Regions from separate parts of the Homo sapiens genome. Here all the other regions are linked to region 2. The links are contacts of gene promoters, found by promoter capture Hi-C in blood cells and fetal thymus (Javierre and others, 2016). All regions are on one chromosome and are shown on one strand. The core of a region is centred on a gene start or on the middle of the fragment in contact, and the rest is flanking DNA. Distances in the headings are between cores, read along the strand shown.

Region 1 (5,599 bases), core at 2,963-5,462, 350 kb before region 2:
GGGAATGTCAGCATCTCCAGCCAGATTCCAAAAGCCGTGGTGGTTTCTGCTTGGACACCTGTGGCGCATCCCTCCTCAGTCTGTGGGGCAGTGGTGTGGAGCCCGTATTGGCTGGCAGGTGGTGATGGAGAACTGCGGGCACTCGCGCCAGCCAACACTGGCCTCCTGGAGACTGGTCACCACACAGCTGTTCTGAAGGGCCCGCAGGGCTTAAGGGAGGAAAGCGGCTTCCCACAGGGGCTCTGTGGGTTCTTTTGGGGAGAAGAGCTGCCCCTCAAGTAGAGGCTGGAGTTGTTCCTGCAGAGTGGAGAGAGGAGAGAAAGACTGGATGGCAGGGAGGCCTTTCCCAGCACCAGGAGTGCAGTCAACGGAGTAGTCAGGTGGGGACAACTATGAGTCACTTCTCCCTGGCGATCTTCATAGCCTGTTTCCACACCCTTAGCTGGAGTCCAGATGTCCTGGCTTCTGGGGCTCACCCTCGCCCACCCACCTCATTCACAGCCATGCTATGTCACACTGTGGGGATCCCATCCATCCCTGCTTCTCCCTGCCCCGGCCTATCTTGGGTACCATCCTTCTCTTGCCAACCTAGGAACTAAGCAGGTGAACCCAACCTGGCCGTCATTCTCGGGATCCATTTCCTCCTGGGATATTTGGGGATGTGTATGCCCAGGCCCTTCCTTCCTTGGTGGCAATGGAGCCTAGCCATTAGGGCCAGCGGGAGTCTGTGACCCAGGTACTGGCACCCAAAGTGACTTTGCCCTGCTTCCTGCCATCTTGTTAAAGAAAAGGTAGCCAGGATTCCCTAGGAAATAAGCTGTGGAGAAACCACTCAGCAACTGCAGACAGGGGTCTGTGGCCAGTTCAGGGTCTGAGGGCCAGTGAAGGTGGGTGCAGGCAGGCTGAAAGGACACCAGCACAGCCCTCGGGGTGGGGGCTTGTCACTGGTGTCTGGTCTCCCTGCTTTTCCCATGTGGCCTGGGCTCCATGATACGTTCTCCAGGCCTGGGCCTGGAAAACAGGTCTTTCCTGTTCTCTGGACCTGCTAGAAAGCTTCAGTCAGTTTGGTCCCTGGGAGAGAAAACGCTCTTCCCATGACGGCTCTGTGGAGGCCAGGAATGGGGTAGGTGGGTTGACTGGGAGTACTCCTTCCTGCCGCCCTGGTCAAGGGACTAGTGTGAGTCGGGAGTGCATTTTTGGAATGGGGGCAGGGGTGTTTTTCATGACCATTTATTTGAGTGGTTTTGATTGGTTATGCATACTCTTTAAATTTGAATCCAAATTTTTTGCAAAATTACTTCCCAATCAGATCTTGACCCTTAGCCTGGGACACCACAAACTGAGGTGAATTCTCTGCTTTGCTCGTCACAAATGCCAAACTGACTGCCCTTTCACGGTGTCCATCTTGCTGTCTTTTGCTTCTGTTTGATTTGGTCTGCATATCTTTTAATGTGTCTGTTTTTGTTTTGTTTGTTTTATTTTTATTTTTCAGTTAACGCACGCACAGACTTACATGTCAAGAGTGGACTTTAGACTTTCATGTGTTAAGTTGCTTGAGTTACACCTTGTGACCCTTCTCCCATAACATGGTGTGAGGACGGACTGGGAGCCGGTACAGACTCCAGTGTTTACAGCCTTGCTTTCCTCCCACCGACCCTGGCCCCAGGCTGCCCCGGGCCTGGCGGGCCACCCCTCTCTATGCAAACACGTAAAAGCCATGAATGCTGGAATCCAAAACTGACGAGGTTTATTTTTTTCAGAGCCAGTGGCTGGTCTTCCATTTACAGTGTCACTATTCCCTGACGGAGCTGTTATGTGCCGCTCTAGCGAAGGCCCCAGCCGGGATGCTAGGCCTAATTGTTCAGCGTGGAGATGGCAACTCACGTGGTGCCCTAGGTGCAGCTGCGTGGTCTGGTATACATGCTGCAAAATTCACCCAGTTCCCCTCATTTTAATTTTTCTAACCTACAGCTTAATTTTAATAACTTTAAAACACTTCTAAATATTTATTTTGGCACCAGCGTCAAGACAAATAATATCCTCTCCCATTATTTTCATAAGTAACACAGATTCCCTGATTTTTAAAAACTAAAAATACAGCTAAACCTTTCTTATGTATAAAGTATGCCTATCATATACAGGGAGAGGTGGGTAATAAACTTCCTGTAATGACAGTGTTTGGCATTTCTTTATGGATGGAATTGGAACATGAACAAGACCATGTCCAGCGTTTTTACTGTGAATGTAAATGGAACAGCAGCCCAAAGCTGTTGTCTGTGCCCCAGAGGTGCTACCTGTAGACAGGGACCAACTCCATGTGTGTGTGTTAAGTGTTTGACTCCAATTAAGACTCCCAAGCAAATCCTGCATATTCCAAATGTAAAGAGTACTCAGTGGGAAAAAGGTTGTTACCTCAAAGTCATTGCTTCTTTCCTGGCTGGGTCACAGGGTGAAGAGATGAAGGTGTCTGATGTATATAGACAATTAGGGAAAAATGAGCGGCAAAGGAGCTTTCCCCTTCAGCTGCACTCTAAAGGGGAACATTTTAAGGAAGTACTAGCAGCTTTGACTCTTCTATGCTCCTGTTGGTTTACAAGCCACCAAGAATGTCAGTGTTGAGAATACGGCCTGGTAAAATGGGAGATGTAAAATGACTAAATGAAAGGAAGGGTAGTTTTAATGTTGAAGCACCGTGCTGGGCACTGGAGCTACCCAGAGGAATGCACAACGCTCCCCTCAAGGAGCTCACAGTCTAGCCTACTCCCTGGCTGGAAGCCTCAGGAAGACGTGCTAATTTATTGTGGAATTGGTAGTTTGCTTTTCATGCCCCTGTCTTCCTTCTCATGACCATTTCCCCCTTTCTGTCTGGCTTGCATTATTGATTTCCAGGACCAAGTCCTGGCTTCCTCCTGCCTTCCTGAGATGATGTTCTGCTCAGGGAGAAGTGGAGGGGTGAGCTGTGTGTGTCCACCGAGGCACGGCCAGGAAGAGGCAGCCTTTACCTGTGAGGGGCTCCATGCTCCAGCAGCAGAGCAGGTTCTAGTGACAATTCAACTTTTTATGCTATGACCAGGGGTGGATCTAAATTTTATGGGGCTGAAAGCTTGAATTATTTAGAAAGACTTCTTTAAGAAAAACAATGTTAATATAAAATTAGGTACAGGGTCTTGGAAGGGGCCCTGAAGATTAAGCTTCCTTAGCGTCACAATAAGTCCGTATCTGGTTGCAATTGAAAACTGATGCTTCAGTGAGGGTATCTAAAAAGGTAAACTGGCATATCCAGGGCAAATGTGGGCTGCCAATGGCTCATCTCTAGGGTAATTTTATGTCTGAAAGTGTATGCAGTTGGGTCAGAGCATGACCTTTAAGATAGCCTCTCTCAGCTAACATATTTATGAAGATGAGGCCTGGTGACCCAGCAGGTTCATTGGATACATAAGAAATGAGAATTCCTGGTTCATGGGCCAACCTAGGACTCTGGAGTATGCAGACTTGGCCATTCGTCCATTGTGGCCTGCGGGTCGCACCCCAGGCATACTGAAAGGCCATACTCGTGGCTGGCTGCCTGCGGGCCTAAGCCTTCCCAGGATCTTCAGGACACTTGACAGACTTGTGTTTTCTGGTCTGAGCTGCCTCCACAGGTCCCTCCAGCAAGCCTCACTGCACCTCTCCCCTGCTGTTTGTGTTTGGAATTTTGTCTTCTTTAGCTGAGACCAAATTAAACCTTGGTGCATAAAGTGAGCTTAAAACTTGCCACTGTTTAGTAAGTTAGCCCCCATAGAATGTGACCCTGTCTGCAGAGTCTCATTTACCCCTCTTTTTCTCATTGTCATTTGTTGGCTTTATTAGGGCTGTCTTACAGGATCATGTTGGCATTTACTATCATGTCTTTATCATAAACCATGTTTGTTTGAGGTAGAAGAATCACCATATAATTCGTTGCCCAAATTGGGACTATTGAGAGAGAAAGGGGATGCTATTAATTACACCAGATCAAAAGGCATAAACCAGACCTGTCCCAGGCCGATGTGGAAATATGTTCTTTCTAGTTGTGGGTACCCTGATCTAGGTGGTTTGTAATTGTGCATTACTGACTGCATATGTTTGTGTATGTGTAAATGTGGGCTCCCTGTTAAGTGGGGCTCATGGATACGAGGCCTGAGGAAGTGTGGCTTGCTAGTCTGTTACGTTAACATGCTTTTCTAAAATTGCTTCACGTGTTAATTCATTTACTCCTGCATTCATTGACTGTTTTTGTTCTTTTCCATTCACTTTGTACTTATTTTTTTCATTAAATTTTGCATTTATTTTGAGTTTTTGTGGTGTCTTTTTTGGGCAGTAGCTTTTCTGATTTAACGTTTCCTGAGCCCATTAATCTGCTACAACTGTGGTAAAATACAGCTTGTCTGTTCTTTGAATTTTGTGGAGGTTGATCTACTTCTGTAGGAATTGTTTTAATAGGAAACCCTGCTACAGACATCTGTGAAAGGCTCTTGCATAGGTGGGGGATGGAGGGAAGAGTCACAGGAAAGTTACAGGAAGGTAAAGGGGCAGCCTGTGGTCCATGAATCTTTATTGGTTAACTGGGTGCAGGACATGAGAAAAGGGGCACCTGCCCTTGAGGAGTGTTCCTCCTTAACACAAAGGCTTGCCACGGGACTACTAATATTCGAGTGCCAGGACTGCTCGGAACCATATTACATGCATTAACTCCTCTAATCCTCATCCTAATCCTATGATTAGGGACCATTCATCCCCATTTTATAGCTGAAGCACAGAGGTTTAAGTAATTACCCAAGGTTACATGGCAAGTAACTGGAGAAGTTGAGATTTGAACGCTGGTAGTCTGTACCCTTAAATCCTGAGCTACACCTGCTCCTTGGCATCTCAATGGAATGATGGAAGAGTAGTGAAAGTGTGGCTAGTGTTAAAGTACACAGCCTGATGGTGTGGGCTGGTGGACCTGAGACTGTTTTTTAGAGGTAGAAAGCCCTAGGGGACAGGCAAAAGTGGCTGAGGAAGAGCAGACTGGTGAAAAGAAGTGATAAAAAGTATGTGGGTTTGTTTTTTAAGGAGCTTTCTCCATTGAGCACTAGGTAGGTTTGGGAAGACCAAAATGAGAAAATGGGGACCCCTGCAGGGAGAGTGGTATGAACACATCCCTAATGCAGGCATAGCTCAGCTCTACTTGTGCAGGCAGCAGGGAGGCAAAGTAAAGTATTCACCAAGCTTTGAAGGACAGAGACTCTCCAGGAAGCCAGGGGGAGGAGGGCCTCCTAGGTGGTGGAAACATCATCAAATGACTTGGCTCATTCATTTCAGGGAAGTACTGTTTGGACAAGTTTAAGACAGGTCTATGATGCTCCCCCTGCCCTGTTCCTCCCTGAGCCCACCTACCTTTCTTTCTGCCATAGCATCTGCCTCTGAGCTTTTTCCATCTCCATTTTCTTCAGCCTCATTCCTTCACCAATCCCTGCCTTTCAATAGCTGGGGTCAAAAGGAAAATAGATTGTATCCATATTTCTCCCTGAGAAATGTTTCCCAATCTCTGAGTTGAGGTGGGATAGGAGTTCCTAATGTCAGAAAAGAATATTAGAGG
Region 2 (5,242 bases), core at 1,674-4,173:
GAATGAATTAAATTCCATTGTTAAAAGACCAAGACTTTCACCCTAAATGCCCATAAATGGAAAATGGATAAATTATGGTATGTATTCCATTTTAATGGATGTGTATGTGTGTGTATGTATGTGTATGTGTGTGTATACACCACAGAAAGAGGCCCATGAGTTTCAGTTTAGAAAGATGTAGAAATATATTTGTATAAGCATAGGAAAGGGTCCAGAAAAACACACCAATATGATATCTGTGGTTGCCTATAAAGAGCAGTTTACCTATGAGTTTCAGTTTAGAAAGTTGTAGAAAAATATTTGTATAAGCATAGGAAAGGGTCCAGAAAAACACACCAATATGATATCTGTGGTTGCCTATGGAGGCTGAAGTGGACTTTCCTGTCTCACTTTACAAATGTCTATACTGTTTGAATTTATTACAAAAGCATATGACTAAAGAAACATGAAAAAATGGAATAATAAACATAAGGGCAGAATCAGCAAAATAGAGGACATAGAGGACCAAAAAAAAGGTGGTTAACAAAACTTGAAGTATTTATTTGAAAGTAGACAAACCTCTAGTGAGACTGATCAAGAATAACTGACAGAAGATTTTTTAAAAATGAGATTACAGAAAAAGGAAGAAATGACAAATAAAACAGACATTTTAAAACTTATAAAGGAATAATATAAACACATGATAATACATTTGAAAATACAGATGAAATGAATAATTTCTAGACAATAAAAATTGCCAAATTTGGCACAAAAATGTGAATAACCACTTAAGAGACTCAAATAATTTTGAAACCTCTTCCCCATAGAGTTTCAGACCCAGAAGATTTTACAAGTGCCTCCTACTAACTTCCAAGGAGCAGAAAATCTCTATCTTAATGGAGTTGCTTTAGAAAATAGAAAAAAAGAGAAAACATTGCCCAATTTGTTACTTGATTTTGAAATGTTAAATATGGACTGTACAAATAAAGAAAAATACAGGATAGTTTCACTTATAAACATAGATGTTAAACTCCTAAATAAAATATTATCTAATCAAATACGAAAGTGTATTACAAATACATCATGATAAAGTAATTCACCACATTAGTCGATTGTGGAAGAGGTTACTAGTGCTCACCAGTCTCTCGTTCTTTTCCTCCTGGGAACACCACCAGGCTACATTTCCCAGCCACCTTACAATTAGGTGAGACCCATGAGACTAGTCCATGCCAATGGAATGTGAATGGAAGTGCATCTAATTTTCTGGCTCATGAAAACAGCAGCATTTTCTCTATTTTCTTTTTTTCTTTCTTTGTTTTTTTTAGACGGAGTTTAGCTCTTGTTGCCGAGGCTGGAGTGCAGTGGCGCGATCTTGGCTCACTGCAACCTCCGCCTCCCGGGTTCAAGCAATTCTCCTACCTCAGCCTCCCAAGTAGCTGGGATTACAGGCATGTGCCACAATGCCTGGCTAATTTTGTATTTTTAGTAGAGACGGGGTTTCTCCATGTTTGTCAGGCTGGTCTCAAACTCCCGACCTCAGGTAATCAGCCCGCCTCGGCCTCCTGAAGTGCTGGGATTACAGGCGTGAGCCACCGTGCCCGGCAAGAGCAGCATTTTCTAAAAGCAATCAGTACTCAACACCATCCTGCTGAGGTAGGGCAGCGGCGGACTCCATGTTTTGAAACTTAGGAACTTAGACCATCTTTTGTCAAATTCAGATGGTTTTCTCAAAGTAAAGATCATTCAAGTTTTGTTTCAGTAATGGGCCGTATGATCAGATCTGTGTGATTAGGCTGAATTCATTATTATTGAGACAAAAATTGAGTTAAAGGGGATTCTTGGTATTGGCCTGCAAAACCTGTCATAACTTAAATGTAAAGTTTCTGATGATTTAGTCACTTTACTCTCAGCTCTTAGCTCTTTCACTCACCTGTCCTTGTTCTACACAACCTGCCTGATGGGTAACTTGAATACATATTTTCTCTCTTCAGGGGATGGGAACGCCCTAAGGGCAGGGGCTGTTTCCACAGCCCTGGGGTGGAACCCCCTTCCTGCATACCAAGAATGAGTTGGCTATACTTGACGAAGGGCAAAGACAAGGTGGCACGCATCTTTCATGCTTCTGCTGGCAGATGCAGTGGACTGGAAATTTCCTGGTCTGGGAAGGACTCGGTCTGTGAGTGCACCTATCCCTGACATCTATGCTAGCCCCGGGATGGGGGCCCCAGCAGAGTAAGGCCCTGACTTCACATGGACAGGGCCAGGGCAAGGGGGCCACATCCTGGCCTAGTTGCTCTCCATGCCCGTGATCAAGGGAGATGAGCTGCCAGCTTGCTCGGTCAAGGAACACTTGGAAGGCACTCCAAGTGCCCCCAGGTGCACCAGATCTAGGAAACTTAAGCAAACTACATGAGGTATGGGGTGGGGCCCAGTGGGAAAAATGAGTCTGACAGGTCAGAGGGAGTAGATTATGAGCTCAGGTTAGGCATTCTGTTCAGCATTTTACGTACACCCTCCCACTTTTGATTTTTACCAACACCCAGGGAGGTCGGTGCTCTACAAAAGGGAAAGGCGTGCTCAGGTGGCCCGACTTGCCACGGTTCCAGCTCGACCCCGGGCTGCTAGCCCCTTGGCACGCTTGTCTGAGGCCTCCCAGGTCTTCCAGCCTGGCCTGGAGGCTCAAAGCCACGAAACCCAAGGGTGCCGCTTCTCAGGCCCTCCCCGCCCCCACGGCAGAACCCCTGACCCTGCCCGGGTCAAACGCCTGGCGTCGGGCCCGCCGGGTCCGCAAGGAGGAGCCCGCGAGGCGGCCGCGAAGGGGCTGTGCTTACCTCGCCCGGCGCGGGTTGCGGCCCCAGGGCCCGCGCTCCAGGCTGGCGGCCGCTGCATTCTGCGCCCCTCGCCTGAAACGGCAGCTGCGCCAGTCCTGGCCACGACCGCTTTCATTTTCCTCAACGACATCGGCAGGAAAGCGAAAGCGAAACCCTCCGGGAGGCGGGACCGGGGCCGAGCGCGCAGTGAACGCGGGGCGCGCGGCGGGCGCGGGCCGGCAGCCAGAGGCGGGGGCCCCGGGCTCGGGTCTGCGCGTGGCCTGGCCCGGTGGCGTTCGGGGTGGAGCTGGGCCAGCCGAGTGCCCGAGAGCTAGTCCGCCACGCACACCTGCCTCGGCGGGACCCGGGCCCGGGCTGGGCGGGAGGCTGGGCAGGCCCGCCGTAAGTGGAAAGGCGCCCGCGGCGCTTCGGCCGACCGGGACAGGTTCCTCCATCTGCCCTTCATTCAGCGTTTACTTGGGCCTGTGGCTGGCAGCCGGCCCGGGACCTGACCGCTGGCGGCGCCTCGGGCTCTGGCCTGAGGAGGCAGATGGCAGCCTGAGCAACTGGGACCAAGCCTCTGAGGAGTCCCCGTTGGAGGGGACTTGACCATGAGGTACCAGGCATCTCATCTGGGGTCAGCGGAGAACCCAAAAGTCAATGACGTCGGTGAAATGGGGGTCCCTTCATCCGATAAGAGAAACTGGAACAGCAAGCCTATGGTTTGGACTCCCTGGTCTAAGCGGTGCCCATCAATATCTAAACATTTAGAGATTCCAGGTTTCAGTGTCTGGCCGTCTCTTACTGTCAGTGATTTGGGGCAAAATATTCAAGTAGTTAGACTTAATTACTTCCCCTGTGGGATGGGAATAATAATAATCATACCTACTGCCAGAATTTTAGGAATGAACAATAGAAGGAAGAAAATACTTAAAATTTTCTGACAGCCTCTAAGTGGGTTCCTTGAGGGCAGCAACCAAGTCATTTACCTGGATGCTTGATAGACATTCTCTAATGGCCAGTCCATCAACTTGGAGCTATCTCCATGATAACAGGTTAGTTGTCAAAGTTTGGACAATATTATCTGGAGTTTAAAGACTGAGGAAGCCCTGCAATTTTTTTTGGAAGGTGTCTGAAACTTAGCCTGACAATTAGCCCCCACAATTATGCCACGGAACCAGGTTTTTGTTAGAGTGGAGCATGGCCACAACGTTTGATGGACATTCCTACAGCGGTGTTCAGCGCTGGCCACTGAGGTCTGAAAATACTTTTGCAAGCATTTCTATTCACTTGCTTTTAGAAAACATTGGTAAGACACCATACTCCAAACACAGTTTGCCCTGTCTGTACGTTTGTTGCAAAGCAAACATAAAAGTTTTTGCCATAGAGCAAACACAGAGCAGTCTGTTATAACTGGAACAAGAAACCAAAATGAGCTATTAAATCTGCCCAGAGTCACTTTGGTTTACCTGTTTGTAATTTGGGCACATTCCCTGCAAGATGGAGGCCCTGGTCTGTGACTGATGTAGGGGCTTGTATGTGTCCTTGCAATAGTTCCCTCAAGAGCAGGTGGGAAAGTGGGGCAGGCCAAATGATGACCTTAGAAAAACAACAGCCTGTTTCTCTGTCCAGAAGATGCTACTTTTAGTCTGTAGTATGAAGGAAAAAGAAAAAACAAAAAAGGCAAGCCTTGGAGCCTCTTCCTCCTTATAGGACAATTCTTGACTCCAAGATAGCAAAGTAGAGTTAAATCTGCTTCTGCATAAAAACTATGTTTGGGAAGATGAAGATCAGGAAAAGACAGGAAGAGATGTAAGCAGATAAGCCAAATCCTGGTTACCTTTTATAGACATCACACATGTGAACAGAGAGCATCAGGAGGTCAAGGCCGGCCTGATGTTTTTCATCTTGGCAACTTCCCAAGGTCCAGGTTTGGTCCTTGACTTTGTGGGGCCAAAAATCTCATCTGACTTCCAGTGTACCAGAGTCGATTAGCACTGTTGCATAAAGTCAGAATGACAACTGACTGATTTCATTCACTATTTGCTAGAGAAGTGCTATGCTAAATGCATTACATGCATTATTACCTCATTATTTCTCCCTACTATCATGTGGTATATTATAATCTATTTATTTTTCATTTGGGAGAAAAAAAGATGAAGGAAATCCCAAGGTCACATAGTTACTATGTATGTTAGTGGCAGGGTTTGAATCAAGGCCATCTGACCCCAAAACCTGAAGCTTATCCATTCCTGTTAGAAGCAAGACTGTCGGGAACACTGGACTCGAGGCCACCTGATGAACACATTCTCTTCTTGTAGCCATGCAGTTTGGAGCCCCATAGTCAGAAGGTGGCTTAGTGAGCCTAAAATCAGAATCGGAAGAGTGAATTGTCTGACTTAAATGTTTGATGATATCAGGCTCGGGCAATGTGGGATGTCTCTTTCCACAAC
Region 3 (5,155 bases), core at 952-3,451, 450 kb before region 2:
AGTTTTCTCATGTAGGTACTGCACAAACTGGCTTCGTATCTTGCACTATGAGTGTAGGCTGACTCTTCCAGCATAGTCTCCTTCGGGGTGGCGCTGAATATCCCCTCATTTCAGCTTTTCATGGTGCTCCTTTGCCTCATTTTTTTAAACCATAATGTCTAGCCTGGTCTCAGCTCCAAGGCAAGAACAGAAATACAGGTAAGGACAGAAATATTGTGGCAAATTCTACCACCATTTGGATGAATAATAATAAAACGTTCATTTATTTTATAGCATCTGCAAACATCCCAAAACCTTTCAACCAAAATATGTATAGATGAGTGTGCAGACCAAAGTAAGGACATCAGTATGTTACATTTAAAAATAAGTCAAGGTTAAAGGCGGTGTCCTCTTTTAAGAACATCGCAAATACAATTCCAGTACTCCAAGTACGTATTCTGTACCCAGCCACCTGGGAGGACTGAGAGACCTAATGGTTTTCTGCTTTCTGGAACTTCTATGCCAATTGTGACTTTCTCACCCAAATTTGTAAATTCGCAAATTAACATGCAGCGAATAATTACAATTGTAAACACCTGGAAGTGGAAAAGGCCGTGAGGATAAATTGAGAGGAAGAGTAAACCTAATACCATAAGTTGCATACCAGCAGATCTGAGTATCGTCATGAATAATTGGTTAGCTTTTCCACATGCCTTAGAAGTTTCAGCAAGCACCTAGCGAACATCTTAATCCAAATTTCTCAAAAAATGAGAGATTTTATTTAAGATCATTCCTCAATTTATCTTAGACTTTCAGCTACATAGTTAGTCCGGTAGTGTAACAGTAACGGGTTTTACGTAAATGCCAGGGGAAAAGAGAGGAAAGCTAAATAACCAAGTAAATCTGTATCTAATTAACAAATTGGCTAAATAAGGTGTTATCAGCTGCTTGATATAGAGCTGATAAAATCTTCAGCTAGGCATACTTGAGGCCTGATTACAGAAGTGACCGTAGTCCACCCACACACCTGAAATTTATTTAAGAGACCAAGCTAGGCTCTTCCTGGCCTTTAGGAAGAGGACTGGCATGGAGAAATATGTTCCTCACTAGTTCTCCCAAGCCATGGCACGTCCCAACAAATTCCTCCTTTGGTTTTGCTGCTTTGCCTGGCTGTGTTTTCCTATTAGCCTTGGTTCTCAGGCTTCTGGGGGAGAAGCTCAGATTGCTGCTAGTGCTGAGTTGGAATCTGGGGCTATGCCTTGGTCCTTGCTGCAGCATATAGATGAGAGAGACAGAGCTGGCCTCCTTCCCGCGCTTTTCAAAGTTCTATCTGTTGGGCGAGGTGGGTCACCTAGGCTGCAGCCAGACTCCAGAGCTTTGCACTACATGAAGAAGCTCTATAAGACATATGCTACCAAGGAAGGGATTCCTAAATCCAATAGAAGTCACCTCTACAACACTGTTCGGCTCTTCACCCCCTGTACCCGGCACAAGCAGGCTCCTGGAGACCAGGTAACAGGTATGTGAAAGCAGATTGGTTAACTGGGTGGAGGGAAGATGATAGACACTTCTGCATTTCAATTACAGAAAGGAGCTGAGCCTAGTTCCTTGAATTGTATTTTATTTTGCATAAAACTCAATATCCAGTTGAAACAAATCTGGGACTTGAGCTTATTGTTTATTCCTAACGCTCTCATTGGTTAAGGTGGGCTAATATGATGGAATTTTAAAGCAACACCAGAGACTTAATGGCTTTCAAGGCTGAGCGGAAGTGCTGCTAGAGAATGTTAGCACCTCTTTCTGTTCCACCAAGCTTTTGGCCCAGAAATGGACCTTAAACATCTCTTACAGCTATTGGTGTGATGTGTTAAATAGGATATTTTTCTCTTGTTTGTTACTTTCTGTGAGAGAAAAGCTTAAAGTTCCCGTTTTGAACAGTTGGCCCTTACAAGAACAAAGTATCAGTCCACAGTTTGACTCAGCAGTTGGGTGTGGTGCTTTAAAAAATTATAACATGGTGAAACCCCGTCTCTACTAAAAATACAAAAATTAGCTGGGTGTGGTGGTGCATACCTGTAGTCCCAGCTACTCGGGAGGCTGAGGCAGGAGAATCGCTTGAACCCAGGAGGCAGAGGTTGCAGTGAGCCAAGATCGCACCACTGCTCTCCAGCCCGGCAACAGAGCGAGACTCTGTCTCAAAAAAAAAAAAAAAAGTATATATCTACCAGCTCTTGATTTAAAACCATTCTAACCCAACAGGGCAGTTGTATCTGCTTCCTTAATATCCTATTTTAATATAGTGGTTTTAGAGCATCTGTTTTTAATCTCAAGTGTTCTAAATTAACTAGGACCAATTACATTGTTTTAAATTGACTTTCTTCACTAGGGCTTAGAATGTCATCTTAGTAAGTCTGATAAGTGTTTCTATTATGGTTTTCCCTCTAGAGATTATCCAAGAGAAAAATACTACTTTCCTTATCAGCTCAGCTGCTTCTGTGTTTGGAGCAAATTACTCAGAATGAAGCTTCAGGCTGAGCACAGTGGCTCATGCCTGTGATCCCAGCACTTTGGGAGGTTGAGGTGAGAGGATCGCCTGAGCCCAGAAGTTCAAGACCAGTCTGGGCAACATGGCGAGACCTTGTCTCTACAAAAACAAAAAATCAGCTGGGCATGGTAGCTCATGCCTGTAGTCCCAGCTACTTGGGAGGCTAAGGTGGGAGGATCAGTTGCACCTGGGAGGTTGAGGCTGCAGTGAGCCATGATGGTGCCACTGCACTCCAGCCTGGGTAACAGTGAGACCCTGTCTCAAAAAAATAAAAAATAAAAATGAAACTTCAGAATGTAGTGATTCCCTGTTACTTTGATTCACCACCAAATCTGACTTTCTGGAGATAAAATGTCCAGTAAGGTTGCTGGGAATTAGTAATGATACCAATTGCCTTCCTTTTCTATATTAACCCCCATTTTTTTTTTTGAGGCTTGAGAAAGTGGGGAAAAGAGAAGGGAGAAAGCATATTATGAAGTACTAATTCTTTGACTTGACTGCCTGTTGTGTTGACTGATTTTCAAGCACTACTGGTAGATTTTTTTTCTTCTTAGGAATCCTTCCATCAGTGGAACTGCTATTTAACCTGGATCGCATTACTACCGTTGAACACTTACTCAAGTCAGTCTTGCTGTACAATATCAACAACTCAGTTTCTTTTTCCTCTGCTGTCAAATGTGTGTGCAATCTAATGATAAAGGAGCCAAAGTCTTCTAGCAGGACTCTCGGCAGAGCTCCATACTCATTTACCTTTAACTCACAGTTTGAATTTGGAAAGAAACACAAATGGATTCAGATTGATGTGACCAGCCTCCTTCAACCTTTAGTGGCCTCCAACAAGAGAAGTATTCACATGTCTATAAATTTTACTTGCATGAAAGACCAGCTGGAGCATCCTTCAGCACAGAATGGTTTGTTTAACATGACTCTGGTGTCCCCCTCACTGATCTTATATTTGAATGACACAAGTGCTCAGGCTTATCACAGCTGGTATTCCCTTCACTATAAAAGGAGGCCTTCCCAGGGTCCTGACCAGGAGAGAAGTCTGTCTGCCTATCCTGTGGGAGAAGAGGCTGCTGAGGATGGGAGATCTTCCCATCACCGTCACCGCAGAGGTCAGGAAACTGTCAGTTCTGAATTGAAGAAGCCCTTGGGCCCAGCTTCCTTCAATCTGAGTGAATACTTCAGACAATTTCTTCTTCCCCAAAATGAGTGTGAGCTCCATGACTTTAGACTTAGCTTTAGTCAGCTGAAGTGGGACAACTGGATTGTGGCTCCGCACAGGTACAACCCTCGATACTGTAAAGGGGACTGTCCAAGGGCAGTTGGACATCGGTATGGCTCTCCAGTTCACACCATGGTACAGAACATCATCTATGAGAAGCTGGACTCCTCAGTGCCAAGACCGTCATGTGTACCTGCCAAATACAGCCCCTTGAGTGTTTTGACCATTGAGCCCGATGGCTCAATTGCCTATAAAGAGTACGAAGATATGATAGCTACAAAGTGCACCTGTCGTTAACAAATGGTCCTCTTAAAACCTTGAGCCTATTTGGCAAAGTAACTACTGTGTGCCTATGTGTGCCTTCAAGAGAAAGCTTCATATATTAAGTCTCTAAATGTAGCATATGTTATATAAAGAGGAGCCTGTGTAGGTTAGTACCTTCTATGGCATCTATCAGGATAAAGGGATAACATCAATTGTTGCTACAGAGCCTTTTTTTATTTCCAAATTTAAATGAAATATAATTATTGTGGAGAACTTTACATTTTTTTCCTTGAGTGATTTTTTTTCTTTTCATAGGAGTCTTATTCTTGATAGGGAAAAAACCTTAATTAGCATCAATCCTGGATGGACTTGCAGCTATAAATAGGCAATTCAGATTGCTGTAGTCTTAATAGAAGAATAAATTTCTGTCAATGGCATAAATTTTGTGTGTGTTTTATTAAATATTGCTTTTAAGCTGATCATTTAGTGGGGGAGAGGAAGTGTCTAAAAGCTGGCCATAGCTCGACTTTTGATCCTTTTTCAGAGTGAAAGGGAGGCTAATGTCACCGAAATTCTCATGAAGTTAAGACTCACTAGGACTAGAGAGCAGGCAGTGTAACCCATTTCCGTTGCTTTAGTGTGATTGGTGAACAGTATACTAATTCTCCTTGTTAACTAGCATATATAAATCAATCGAGTCACACAGAACAATATAACATTTGTCCCATTCATGTAAAGGAAATTGCCTTGCATGTTTTTCCAAGAAAACCTACGTACAAGACTTTGTAAGTGTATTTTTTTCTTTATATATTTAAAACCTCTGACCTTATGAAAGGCAGCCAGGGAAGGTTTTTTGTTTTGGTTTGGTTTTTGCTGATTTGCTTAGCTCCCTCCACTCCACCCCCACAGGTTTTTTTCCAGATAGATTTATAACTGTTCCTACTAAGCTTGCAGTAGTGACTGGTTATGTTATTGACTGGGTCTTATGTGGATGCTAGGGTTTTTATGTAGGTTTTCAATATATCTATTTTGAGAGAGCCCTGGAGGCACAGAGGTAGGGTTGATATCGTGATTTTGTGTTTGAGTTTCTAAAACCTTGATGTATAAACCAAAAGTAACTCCTAGATGTAATAAGTACTTTT
Region 4 (5,353 bases), core at 1,658-4,157, 430 kb before region 2:
TTCTGGAAGAAGCATCAAATTGATTAAGTCCAGGTCTCAGGCCTGTACAGTGACTGGGCTGGCTTTCAAAGCAGGAGGGGGAGTTCTGTCTCCCCAAGACTTACACAATATGAACAAAGTGTTTACAGCCCTGTTTGCCGGAATGGTGAGTGAAGCTTAGGAGAGAAACTACCAGCAGCATGAGCAACACCTATGGGAGACCCCAGGTGGATAAACCAGTCCTTAGAGAGAAAATTGGGACTGGGGTTTAGTTGAGATTGTATTTCTCAGGAGAAACTCAAGTGAGGAATAATGATAACTAACATCACTTATTGGTGGCCCACTGTGAGCCTGGCACTACTCTATGTGATCAAATCTCCTTTAATCTTTATCTGGCAGGTATGTAGTATCCTTGTTTTACACATGAGGAAATGGAGGCTCAGGAAGGTGGGGACATCTCCAGGTTCATAGAGCTACTGGTATTCAAACTGAAGTCACCATACTTTGAAACTCACACTCTTTCCTACTTCACTGATTTTCTATCTCTGGGATACACCAAATTGAAGAACACCTTTCTCTCCCTGTTTCATTTTGAGAAATCAAGGGTGGGCAATGAGCCTGTCTATAAATCTGTCTCTGCCACTCCTAGGCAGTTGCTGTCAGTTGCCCTTTGCCCCATAATTCATTTGGTGTCATCCAGTTAAGAGACACATTCCCCTTTCATCTTGCTAGGTGATTTGCTAGGAAAGTCAAAAGTAACTTGCTATGTTGTTTTTTGTTTTGTCTTTTACTTTTCTTGCTGCTTCCCTTGAAGTAGAAAAAGCTGCTAACTAGGACCTAAGGACCCTGCCAGGGGTAAATGTGACCACAAACACAGTGCCCAGACTGTGATGAATGCTGGGCATACCCCCGGGTTTTAGAACAAAGTGTCCTCTATGTGAGTAACTGACGAGATACACCACAGTTAAAATCAGGAAAGTTTTCTAGGTGAATGTTTAGGGCATGCATTCTCAGTCTCCTGAGCCACCAGCCAAAATTCATCCACATGCACATAGCATGCTGTGACCTAATTCTGTACCAAGTCCATCACGCAGCTTCTGTGTGCAGCCTGGGGTCCAGAGCTCACAAATTGGATTTTTCTTCCATTGAATATTCTGGGTGACTCCTCAGCAAGCAGAAATCTGGGAGGTTTAGCTCAAACAGAATGACAGTTTTAGGAGAGGGGCTTTTTAGAGACTATCTCATCCCATTTTATGATCTGGACACAAGAGAGACAGTCTGGCCATTCCTGGGCCTGAGGAGGCTGTTGCCTTCTCTAAGCAATGCTTTTGGGGCCGAGTTCAGAGCCTGAGATAGTTTCTTTTCTTGAAAACCAAAATGAACCTTAGGGGACCAGAAGAGCAAAGTGGAAAAGCTTATTTGCCCACACCTATCTGTCCGGGGCCCACTGAAGTTGGCAGAGAAGAAGAAGCCTGTATCCATCTTTTTCATGAATCCTCTTTTGTCCAAGGATGTGTGAGTAACATCTGAATGAAGACCACAAGGATGGAATGGTTTCAGGCCTGGGGCTGGGGGCCAGGCTGGAGTAGAAAAGTTAAGTCATTCTGACCAAAGCAAACAGAGGCTGGGTGTCACCCAATGTCTGCAGGGAAAAGGTGACATATGTGTACTTAATGGGGATGTGACAGCCCAGCACTCCTTTCCAGGAAGTGCTGATCTGAAAGGGAATCTGGTTCAATCTCTGGAACAGTCAGCCCTCACCCAGCCTCACCAAGAGGCCCTGCCTGTCAGGTGTCCCCACCGGCGAAGGCAATCTTCATTCTCCCTGCACTTCCTTCTTGTGCACTTTCTACTTTCCTATAAAGCCCTATCTTTAGACAACTGTGGTGAATTCAGTGCATAATCGGAAAGCAAACAAACTTACCCCAGAAGAACATTTACAGTTTAGGTAGACATTTGTGTATAAGCAATAATTCACGCTTTGTTGAATTTCTAAAAATAAACAACATGATTTTGTTGAAAGGTTTCTGACCTCTAATATACTTTAACCAGTACATTACCATCTCTGAATTATTGAGACAGCTATGTAGCCCAGCTATGTAGCTGCTGCCTAAAAGAAAGATATCTGGGCTGGGTGTGGGGGCTCACACCTGTAATCCTAGCACTTTGGGAGGCCGAGGCCGGCGGATCACGAGGTCAGGAGATTTGAGACCGTCCTGGCTAACATGGTGAAACCCCATCTCTACTAAAAATACAAAAAATAAGCCGGGCGTGGTGGCAGGCGCCTGTAGTCCCAGGAGAATGGCGTGGACCCGGGAGGCGGAGCTTGCAGTGAGCCAAGATTGCGCCACTGCACTCCAGCCTGGGCGACAGAGCAAGACTCCATCTCAAAAAAAAAAAAAACAAAACCACATCTGTTGCTTCACCTATGAACTACAGATCCACTGTTAAACCACACACAAAATCAAAGGACACAAACTTGGAAAAATATTTGCCACACATAGGAAAAAGTGTTAATCACCTTAATATATAAAGAGGTTTTTTTTTGTTTTGTTTTTTTGAGACAGGGTCTCACTCTGTCACTCAGGATGGAATGCAGTGGCACAATCATGTCTAACTGCAGCCTCAACCTCCTGGGCTCAGGTGATCCTCCCGCCTCAGCTCCCTGGAGTAGCTGGAACTACATGCATGTGCTACCATGGCCAACTAATGTTTGAATCTTTTGTAGAGACAGGCTGGTCTCCAACTCCTGGGCTCAAGCAATCTGCCCACCTCAGCCTCCCAAAATGCTACTAGGATTATAGGCATGAGCCACTGTGCCCAGCCCTAAAGAGGTCTTACAAATCAATGAGACCAATAATCTAATAGAAAAATGAGCAAAGAAAATTGACAGATCCCAGATCACATACAAATGGCTTTAAAATACACAAAATGGTGTGTAGTCTAATTTATAATATATGCAATATAAATTAAGACAGATATTATTTTTACCTTTCAGATTTCAGAGATCCAAAAGTTTGATAATGCACTAGGCATGGTGGCATGTGCCTGCAGGGGCAGGCTGCTTGCAGGGGACAGGCCCAGGAGCTGTTGGCCACAGCACTCATTCTGCAGAAGGGAAACTTGAGGCCCCAGAGGGCAGGGGTTGGTCCCACAGAGACTGGTGGGCAAAGGGGATCACCCCAAGTCTCAATGGCACTGGGAACACTTACACACTCTGACCTGGACTAAGGCTGCCAGGATGGTCCATGGCACTTTAAAAGCTAAAAAGGCCAAGCACAGTGGTGTGCACCTGTAGTCCCAGCTACTGGGGAGGCGGAGGCAGGAGGATTACTTGAGCCTGGGAGTTCAAATCCAGCCTGGGCAACACAGCAAGACCCCGTCTAAAAAAAGGTTGATAATGCACTGTGTTAGTGAGTGTATTAATGCAATCCCACACTGCTGTAAATAAATACCTGAGACTAGGTAATTAACAAAGAAAAGAGGTTTAATTGGCTCACGGTTCTGCAGGCTGTACAGGAAATGCAGATTCTCACTTCTGAGGAGGCCTCAGGAAACTTACAATCATGGTGGAAGGCAAAGGGGAAGCAGGTACCCTTTACATGGCCAGAGCAGAAGCAAGAGAGGGGGAGGGGTGGGTGCCACATACTTTTAAATGACCAGATCTCATGAGAACTCACTCACTATCATGACCAACAGGGATAGTGCTAAACCATTCATGATGAAACTGCCCCCATGATCCAATTGCCTCCCACTAGGACCCACCTCCAATATTGAGGATTACAACTGAACATGAGATTTGGGTGGGGACACAGATCTAAACCATCTCAGTGTGCTTGTATACATTTTTTATGGGACTGTAAATTGGTATAGCCTCTTTGTAAGTGTGATTTGACAATATCAATCAAAATAGAAAATTCATGTACCCTGTTACAGTTGTCTATTACCATGTAACAAACTACCCCCAAACTTAGTAGTTTGCACTTTTATAATTATTGTGCTCATGTTTTTGAGGGTCAGAAATTCAGGAAGAGCTAGGCTGCGGAATTCTTCTCTGATCAGTATGGTGTCAGCGGGGGTGGCTGACACTGCAGGATTCGCTTCCAAGATGGCCTGGTTACTTGCCTGTGCAATGCCTAAGTGCTCCTTGGCCTCTCTTTTCCCTCTCCACATGCTATCTCATACTCCTGGGCTTCTCCATATAGCTTGTATTTCTCATAGCTTAGTGGTCTCAGAGTAGTAGCACTACCAAGAGGCAAGAAGTGGAAGCTACCAGGCCAGTTAAAGGCTATGTCCAGAACTAGCCCAACATACCTTCTGCTACATTCTGTTGGTCAAAACAGTTACTGTCACCCCTAAGCTCATTATCCAAGGGGATGGAGAAATAGACCTCACCTCTTCTGGGTAGAGTAGTGGCAAAGTCACATTGTAGAAAAGCTTGGGAGGTGGAAAATTTTTTCATGATTGTCTTTGTAAAGTACAATCTACTACCTACACTTTAACCCACCAATTCATCTTTTAGAAATTTATCCTGTAAGTGGACTTACAAATGTGAACAAAAATAAATGAACAAGGGTATTTGTTACTAAAATAGTAATAGCAAAAGACTGGATTAATCTAAATGTCCAATAATAGGGTTATTTAACCCAATTTATTTGTGCCCATGCAATGCATAGCTATGTGCCTGTCTTAAAAAACAAACAAACAAACAAGAAAACCTATGTACTTACTTTGAATAAACTCTAAGATATACTTTCAAATGAAAAAAATAAAGGTGAAGGCTGGGCACGGCGGCTCATGCCTGTAATCCCAGCACTTTGGGAGGCCGAGGTAGGTGGATCACCTGAGGTCGGGGGTTCAGACCAGCCTGGGCAACACGGTGAAACCCCATCTCTACTAAAAATACAAAAATTAGCCAGATGTGGTGGCACACCCCTGTAATTCCAGCTACTTGGAAGGCTGAGACGTGAGACTCACTTGATCCCAGGAGGCGGAAGTTGCAGTGAGCTGAGATCACCCCACTGCACTCCAGCCTGGGTGACAGAGTGAGACTCTTACTCAAAAAAAAAAAAAATTTTGTTTTGGTAGAGACTGGGTCTCACTGCATTGCTCAGTCTGGTCTCGAATTCCTGGCCTCAAGTGATCTTCCCACCTCAGCTTCCCAAAGTGCTTGGATTACAGGTGTGAGCCACTACACCTAGCTCCATCTCTATTGAAAAAAAAAAAAGTACTTACAGAAAGAAATGTTTTTATAAGTCCTTTACAATAAACCCCTGGAAATCATATATGAAACTAAGCCCTCATATGTGTTGGACTGTTGGGGACACACAGAGATGGGGAAGTCCTGTTTGGAGTCTCACTGCTGCTACTGTCT

What was found. Contacts are between HindIII fragments. The CHiCAGO score rates a contact against its expected background, and 5 or more counts as called.
Region 1: a fragment that was not itself captured here is called in contact with the fragment with the promoter of CARINH in region 2 in 1 of 17 cell types (fetal thymus); the score reaches 5.0 in fetal thymus.
Region 3: a contact is called between a fragment that was not itself captured here and the fragment with the promoter of CARINH in region 2, in 6 of 17 cell types (naive B cells, fetal thymus, M1 macrophages and 3 more). The highest score is 7.5, in naive B cells.
Region 4: a fragment that was not itself captured here is called in contact with the fragment with the promoter of CARINH in region 2 in 3 of 17 cell types (monocytes, fetal thymus and M0 macrophages); the score reaches 7.1 in monocytes.

What each region holds. Positions count from the first base shown.
Region 1 is chr5:132,754,718-132,760,316 of GRCh38, reverse strand. The region is part of intron 9 of SEPTIN8 (septin 8); the gene reads left to right. It also overlaps a transcript of CCNI2 not described here. Among named protein-coding and RNA genes, the nearest start is that of CCNI2, 10 kb to the right of the region's middle. The HindIII fragment of the contact is 2,038 bases long and covers 3,194-5,231 here.
Region 2 is chr5:132,408,610-132,413,851 of GRCh38, reverse strand. CARINH (colitis associated IRF1 antisense regulator of intestinal homeostasis) reads right to left here and starts at 2,923. Exons shown (of 4, transcript NR_161242.1): 1 at 2,811-2,923. RefSeq lists silencers at 2,625-2,914, 2,985-3,284 and an enhancer at 3,525-3,574. The HindIII fragment of the contact is 5,230 bases long and covers 1-5,032 here.
Region 3 is chr5:132,860,480-132,865,634 of GRCh38, reverse strand. It overlaps GDF9 (growth differentiation factor 9), which reads left to right. Exons shown (of 2, transcript NM_005260.7): 1 at 1-1,498; 2 at 3,079-4,450. The coding sequence starts at 1,102. The coding sequence ends at 4,046. Among named protein-coding and RNA genes, the nearest start is that of GDF9, 3.4 kb to the left of the region's middle. The HindIII fragment of the contact is 609 bases long and covers 1,897-2,505 here.
Region 4 is chr5:132,834,376-132,839,728 of GRCh38, reverse strand. No RefSeq gene overlaps it. Among named protein-coding and RNA genes, the nearest start is that of SHROOM1, 6.4 kb to the right of the region's middle. The HindIII fragment of the contact is 3,023 bases long and covers 1,396-4,418 here.